Regions from separate parts of the Homo sapiens genome. Here region 1 is linked to region 2. The links are contacts of gene promoters, found by promoter capture Hi-C in blood cells and fetal thymus (Javierre and others, 2016). All regions are on one chromosome and are shown on one strand. Each heading gives the region's core, a stretch centred on a gene start or on the middle of the fragment in contact. The rest is flanking DNA. Distances are from core to core; before and after follow the strand shown.

Evidence for each region. The method cuts DNA at HindIII sites, captures the fragments that hold promoters and counts their contacts. A CHiCAGO score of 5 or more calls a contact.
Region 1: a contact is called between a fragment that was not itself captured here and the fragment with the promoter of ZNF572 in region 2, in 1 of 17 cell types (M1 macrophages). The highest score is 6.8, in M1 macrophages.

What each region holds. Positions count from the first base shown.
Region 1 is chr8:124,846,941-124,850,975 of GRCh38, reverse strand. All of the region lies in intron 1 of LOC105375743 (a long non-coding RNA gene), which reads left to right. Among named protein-coding and RNA genes, the nearest start is that of MIR4662B, 27 kb to the right of the region's middle. RefSeq lists a silencer at 2,575-2,869 and enhancers at 2,575-2,869, 2,014-3,213. The HindIII fragment of the contact is 1,100 bases long and covers 1,724-2,823 here.
Region 2 is chr8:124,971,924-124,975,657 of GRCh38, reverse strand. It overlaps ZNF572 (zinc finger protein 572), which reads right to left and starts at 2,363. Exons shown (of 3, transcript NM_152412.3): 1 at 2,242-2,363; 2 at 1-52. The coding sequence starts at 17. RefSeq lists an enhancer at 2,261-2,420. The HindIII fragment of the contact is 4,233 bases long and covers 305-3,734 here.

The DNA.
Region 1 (4,035 bases), core at 1,024-3,523, 120 kb after region 2:
TCACAGAGACTGGTTCTCCCACGAATTATTTGACAAACTGGGAGAAATTAATATGTCTGCACTTCAGTTTCCCTCACTGTAAAAAGGAGATTAATATTGTTGTTGTAGAAGGAATGGGTTATTGCAAGAGTGAGTTGTTATAAAGGTGAGGCCAGTCCTCTCTTGCTCGCTCTTGTAATCCTCTGCCTTCCACTGTGGAATAATGCAGCAAGAAGGCCCTCACCAGATGCCAGCACCTTGATCTTGGACTTCCCAGCTTCCAGAACTGTGAGAAATAAATTGCTTTTCTTTATAAAGCAATTTTATTTACCTATTTTATCAAAGAAATATCTGTACACTCATGTGTACAGATTATTCACAATAGCCAAAATTATTCCCAATAACTAAAATGTGGCAACAATCCAAGTGTTCATTGACAGATGAACAGATAAGCAAAACTGGATATATACATACATGGAATATTGTTCAACCTTAAAAAGGAAGGATCCTTTATAGAGGTTCATACACACACACACAAGGAAATTCCAGTATATGCTACAACATAGAAGAACCTTGAGGATATTATGCTAATTGAAATAAAGCAGTCACAAAAAGACAAATACTATATGATATAGCTGGAGTGGTCAACTTCACAAAGACAGAAAGCAAAATGGTGGGTGCCAGAGACTGGAGGGAGGGGGGAATAGGGCGTTATTGTTTAAAGTGCGTAGAATTTCAGTTTGGAAAGAGGAAGAATTCTGTGGATGGTGTAGTGACAGTAGCACAACAATGTGACTGTACTTAATGCTCCTGAACTGGACATTTTGAAATGGTTAAAATGGTAAATTACATGTATTTTTATATATAATATATATATAAGGTACATGATATTTATATTTAACAAAACAATTTGTTTTAAAAGAAAACAATACCTGTTTTAAAGAGCTATGAGAATGAAAAGAGACTGTGTTCATCTAGCACTTAGCACAGATCTGGCATGCAAGAAGTACTGAATGGGCGGAAGCAATACTTGTTATCCCTACCATTGGTCACCGCTGTGCGTTGCATCTGCCGTGGGTATGTGGGAGACTTCAGGCCTCACATCTATCACAGGTGGGGAGTTTCTGTTGTCTTGCCTGCTTCACTGGGTGGTTGTGATGAGCAAAGGAGGTCTTGTGTTGAGATGCTTCATAACCTTTTTTTTTTTTTAAAGTGAGGCTGGGCACAGTGGCTCACGTCGGTAATCGCAGCACTTTGGGAGGCAAAGATGAGAGGATTGCTTAAGTCCAAGAGTTTGAAACCAGTCTGGGCAACATAGTGAGACCCTGTCTTTACAAAAGAAATTAAAAAATAAGCCAGGCTTGGTGGTGCAATACACGTGGCCCCAGCTACACAGGAGGCTGAGGCAGGAGGATCGCTTGAGCCCAGAAAGTTGAAGTAGCAATGAGTTGTGTTCCTGCCACTGCACTCTGGGTGGGGTGACAGAATGAGACTCTCAAAAGAAAAAAAAAGTGGAGGAATGATTGATCAAGGTGTTATTAACACATTTCTTAGCTAGCTGAACTTCTTGTCTGTCTTCTCTTTGCACTTCGTATTTATCCTATCACTGCACTTGTCACCTTCCCCGGTGGTAACTTCCTCAGGCCTCTCTCCCCCTCACCTGTCATGAAATCCTCAGGCAGGATCTTCCTCATTTCCATATTCCAGCACCCAGGCCAGCATCTGCACCCACACAGAAGAAGCTTCATTTATTTTTGCTGATCTCAGCTGTTCTGGAGACTTGAAACAACTTTTTAGATGATTTTAACCAGAAGAACTTCTGAGGACTGAAGGCAAGAGGTTTGGTTCTGCTTTACAGATTGGCGTCCCCCCCAGGTGCAACTGACCCAGTAAATGTGTAATTGTCTATACCTGCGCAAATGCAGGCTCCTTGATTAACATGCATCGCCCTCTGGGGAAGAAAGGGAAGGGAAGGAAAGGGAAGGATAACTCAGGGAAAGTAGGAAAAACTCTCCTGGACCTCCCAGGAAAAGGTGACTTCAGGACATGGGCTGCCTGGTTGTTTTCAATGGTTTTCATTATTTAGTTTGAGCTCCTGGGGAGTAAATGTTTCTCAGGCATATTTTGGGGATCTAATTCTGGAGTCCTTGAGCTCGAAATAATGCAATAAAATACCTGCTCCGTGGAAGTGAAAATGGCTGCTTCGCAGGCTACCGAAGCTCTCTGTGCACACCCTTCACAGACAGGAGCTTCCAAGAGGTTAGGTAAGGTGTCCAAGGACTCAGAGGGAAAGTGTCAGAACCGGGACAACAGCATACAGTTCCTGGATAGGAGGGATCCCACAACCTGACTGACAGGCTGAGTGTTGCGATGAACTGAGGAACAAAGGCTGCTTCTCTGGAGCAGGCAGGCAGTTTGCATATTAAAGTACAAAGTGTACTGTAATCTCAGCTACTTGAGAGGCTGAAGCAGGAGAATTGCTTCAACCCGGGAGGTGGGGGTTGCAGTGAGCCGAGATTGCACTACTGCACTCCAGCCTGGGGGACAGACAGAGTGAGACTCCGTCTAAAAAATAAATAAATAAATAATAAAAAATACTAAGTGTATTCATCCTAGAGTTTCTGTACCTTTCATGATGGTTGAAGCAGCTAACTTTTGGACTGAACTTGCCCTCCAAACTCCAGACCAGAAATACCACCTATTTGTCATTCTTCCTTTTGACTCATACTAATTCCTCAGCATGTCCTACAGAAGGGAGTGTTGATAAGCCATGAAAAAGAGGAAGAACATATGATGAGGTAGCATGAGGGGCTTTCTTACTCACCAAATGTAAAGGAACAAGCTTACTCAGCCAGTCTTAATGATTAGCAAGGGACTTTCTCAAGGAAGAAAAGAAAATGGCCGCCACAGTGCTTTCCCCTCACAGTGCACAATTTGCCAATGAGTTCAAAGTGTCTCCGTAACTTCATGCCATTTCTTCTGGTAAGGTTTGGGGGCAGTCAGGGAGGGGTGGTAATTAGTGTTAGATGGGCATACCGAAATAAGGCATAGAGAGGATAACTGGTTTGTTCAGGGGCACACGGCAAACCCATGAAGTCAAACTCAAGTGGCGTCAGGGAGCGCTCAGGCTTCTTCCTGCCTCTAGAAGATTTCACAAGGCCAGGAAGCCAGCAGCCCTAGGGTCAAGTGAAGGGGAGGCAGCTCTGGGACCCACCCAAGAGCAGTTTCTGGTCAGGCATTCCTGGCAACTTGTGGTACCTCGGTCCACCCACGCCTCCTCCACGATGAAAGCTGATAGGCAAGGCCAACGGTCCTCTGGGGCCAGGCAGTGCCTCCGGCCTGGTTTAGGGGGCACTGAGAGGTCTCCCTTCTAAAAATATCTCCCTCCCTTTTCCTGCTGTGGAAGCTGAAGTGGTCACATGCAAGGCTTACTCCCGTGGTTTGAAGCATTATAGTCCCAGTAGATCTGATTTAAAAAATAAATGCCATTATGAGTGGACCAAACAAGTATTACCACACCGTAACATGGGACTTGGCATTTACTTATACCTCTCTCTAAATCCAAAGAAGGATTTGAGAGTATCACACATTTATTTCTCAGATGAGCCAGCTGAGGGAAACAGACCCTGCCCTGGCAAATCCATGGGGCAGCTAGAGAAAACCTTAACTCTACCTAGGACATTTCACTCTCCTGCCCAACACACGCCAAAGCTTCCCGTTGCACCTTGAAAGGAATCCAAACCCAGGATCTTCCCAGGCTCTCCCTGACCCACTCAGGCCCTTGCCTGACTTGCCTCTTGCATTCCATACTTGTTCTCCCGTCTTGTTCTTCACACTCCCACTTCACCTCGCAAGTGCAGCTGTCCTTCCTCCCACTGGGACTGTACGAGCTGCCCCTTCTGCTGGTAAACCTCTCCCCTGTGCTCCTGGTTCCTCTCTATCCCTTAAGCCTTGACTTGAAATGCCACCGTTTTTGTGGCCTCCCTGACCGTGCCACCTAAGGAAGGGGTTCTCTCTTGTCTTTGAAAATATGCTGCTATTTTCCTCCACAGCATT
Region 2 (3,734 bases), core at 1,114-3,613:
TTTTTTTCTTGCTCCATCACAATGATCACAGCCAAGTTAGAGATCAGAAACCCTGTGGAAGGAAATAAATTATGTTTGGAGGTATTTGTTAAAGCTTATTCTTCCTCCTTCCTTCCCAACCATTCCAACACAACAATAGGAGGCATAGAATGTTCCATGAACCATACCGAAAATAAGAAACACAACTTTTAGCAGCCCTTTTAGAAAATCTTATCTCAGATCTAAGTGTTTAGAATTAAGGGTTAACCCTGAAATAACAATGCAAAAAAGTAAATCTTCACATTAAAGGTCTGAGGATCAAGCTTCAAAGACAGAATACTAATCCTCATTGTCCACACGTAGCTTAGAAACACTTTTACTTTAAAAAGCAAAGTATTTTTTTTAAGACACCAATAATAAAACTTATAAAGACTTCAAGGAATCAATATGAAGGCATAAGCAGCAGCTAAAGAAAAAAAGCACCCTGTTTAGTTTCAAAAGAATAACTTGGTCTTGACAGAAGGAAACCTTTGAAGTCAATTTCAAAGGAAAGTTAGGATTTATATAACCAGTAAAGAGAAATTAGGACAAAGCCGAGGTGGAATAATTATAGCCAATAACCCTGCAATATAAAAAGGAGGCTAAAGAGGGACCTCTTCCTCCTTGCACTTAGTTCCTAAGTCTATCATATTCACAATATCCATTTCAGCCTAAACTTCGTCTTCTGGAGCCAACAATCACTAACCTATTTTAAGGGACTAGAAAATGTTCCATCCTGGCTAATGCGGTGAAACCCCATCTCTACTAAAAATACAAAAAATTAGCCGGGTGTGGTGGCGGGCGCCTGTGGTCCCAGCTACTCAGGGGGCTGAGGCAGGAGAATCGCTTGAACCCAGGAGGCAGAGGTTGCAGTGAGCCGAGATCGTGCCATTGCACCACTCCAGCCTGGGTGACAGAGCAAGACTCTGTCTCAACAAAAAAAAAGAAAAAAGAAAAAGAAAAAGAAGAAAATGTGATCTATCACAGGAAGGCAGTGACATATGGACTTTTGGCATCCATTTCAGAATATAAAGAGTATCATTATTTGGGAGAAAAATAAGGACGTAAAAGGATATACAAATGCACACATTTTAAAAACAAAAAATAGTATATGTACTTATATTGTATCTTCACCATTACTGCCTATTATGTGCCAGGTAGTGAATGAAATAATTTGCACACATTTGTCATTTAATTCTTACAGTAGCCCTCTGAAGTGTATGAACAACTACCAGCATTTTATAGGATGAGTTTGAAAGGTATTAAGAAACTTTCCTAAGGTCACCTAGAAAGTGGTAGAGCAGGACTGAGCTCCAAGTCTGTTTGGATGCTGACCTTTTTCACCCTCTGATCTATTATCGTAAACTAGAACAGGAAGCAGAGCTGGGCATAATCCCAAACTGCAAAGAATCCTCAGAGTCCCTTTATTTTAGAATATTTAGAATACTGGCATTTTAAAACAGAGGTCTACATTCCTAAACCTTGTTAACAAAGTGAGTCGACATTCCCTAAGCACACTCAGCAAGTGGGGATTTGTTCTAGAGAAACGTGAAACTAGTCTACATTACTAATATCCCCAGTGTTTGAGTTGGGGGGGAGAAAAAACCATACACCTGAATGCAAAAAAAGGAAGGGGGTGGAGTTGTTCGAATGGAGTTATATATTTTGCTGTCCTAAGTTACATATTGTTATCAAAGTATTTACAAAAGCAGCAAGAGTCTGGGCAACACATTACCATCTCCCCCATTTTCCCTACTAAAATACTATTAAATTTGGCAGCAAAGGAGCCCCCGGAACAGTGGCTCAGCAAAATGGTGGCAAATGCAAGACCATACAAGGCTGCCATTAAGATGTCTCTCCACGGGGAAGGAGTGTTTTCACTGTTCTAGAGCAACAATGTGATCAGAGTGGGGCCGTGCTTTGATCAGAAAGCCTTCAAAGAAAATGCACTGCCTGAAGCCTAGTTTTAAGAACCGCTGGCTGGTACAAGTTGGAGACGCTGGGGGGTGAAGTTCCAGGATACCAGACGGTCTCCGGCCGACAAGATCCCGTAAGGGACCCCGCGGACAAGGATGACGGTGGCCCGTCGGCGGGAGATGCTGGGCCTTCGCCCCTGGCAGCAGCGGGAACTCTCTCCCGGACGTCCACTGCAGCCTGGACGGGGCTGTTTCCACTCCTCTAGCCCGCAACCCTCGGCTCCCTTCCCCCCAAGAAGGAACTCACTGTTCTGGGTGCTACACCCAAGGCGCCCTGCACCCCCAGCGGTCCGGGAGGAAGGTACCCCCTCTCCCTCTGACCCCACCAACCCAGGGTCCTAAACTCTCAAACCCGGAAGGCAGAAACAGGAAGTTACCCTCATCTCCCCCGGCGGCTTTGCTGGGGCCGTTCTAGGAAACAGTGATGGCCCACTCTCGTTGATCTTAACCCTTAGGGTCCTGGACCAGAAGGAGCGTGGGGGTGGATTTCCTTTCCCTGTGCTGTGACCAGCCAACTGTGAACCTCATTTCTCTCACTTGTCAGGCGGCTTACGACAGGGGCCTGATTGGAGCTTATACTTTTCCTTGCCATCAGAATATCATCAGATTAATTATCATCACTATTAGAATCAAAATCAATCTAGTATTTTTCTTTTTTGAGACGGAGTCTCGCTGTTGCCTAGGCTGGAGTGCAGTGGCGCGATCTCGGCTCACTGCAAGCTCCGCCTCCTGGGTTCACGCCATCCTCCTGTCTCAGCCTCTCGAGTAGCTGGGACTACAGGTGCCTGCCACCATGCCCGGCTAATTTTTATATTTTTCGTAGAGACGGGGTTTCACCGGGTTAGCCAGGATGGTCTCGATCTCCTGACCTCGTGATCCGCCCACCTCGGCCTCCCAAAGTGCTGGGATTACAGGCGTGAGCCACCGCGCCCGGCCTCAATCTAGTATTTTTAAACACCTATTGTTTCTGTTCCCACCGCTATGAACATGGATATATATTTACTTACCTGTGAAAGTTAGAAAGCTAAGGCATCCATTCACATATAAAACAATTCGTTTACAAGGCACCCTTATTAACACCTAGAAAAGTAGTTAATCCCTCCTCTTTCATTACAGAGAAAATAGAAGCCAATCCCTTCATCTCACCTCTACCAAACAGAAATCTACTCAAGTCTGCACCCTGCCGTTTTCTTTCTTCCCTCCTGTTACAATACAGAGTCCCTCTGTGACCTTTTTTTTTTTTTTTTTTTTTTTTGTGATGGAGTTTCACTGTGTCACCAGTCTGGAGTGCAATGGCAGGATTTCGGCTCACTGCAACCTCTGCCTCCCGGGTTCAAGCAATTCTCCTGCCTCAGCCTCCCAAGTAGCTAGGACTACAGGTGTGCGCCACCATGCCCAGCTAATTTTTGCATTTTTAGTAGAGACTGGGTTTCACCATGTTGGCCAGGATGGTCTTGATCTCTTGACCTCATGATCTGCCCGCCTCAGCCTCCCAAAGTGCTGGGCTCTTTGGTATTTTAATAAGCCCTTTACTGGTACTCACTTTCCTACCTATCTTCTTGGAAACTTCGCACTACCAACTAAACTCTCCATCCCTCCACCCCCATCCCCAAATAGTCCCTCAGCTTTTCTTTTCTCTTTTTACTCACAATGTTTCCATTTCATCAATTTTCCACTAACCTTAACATTTCTCCTGCAACAACAACAACAAAAAAATCACTAGCATCACCAATGACCTCC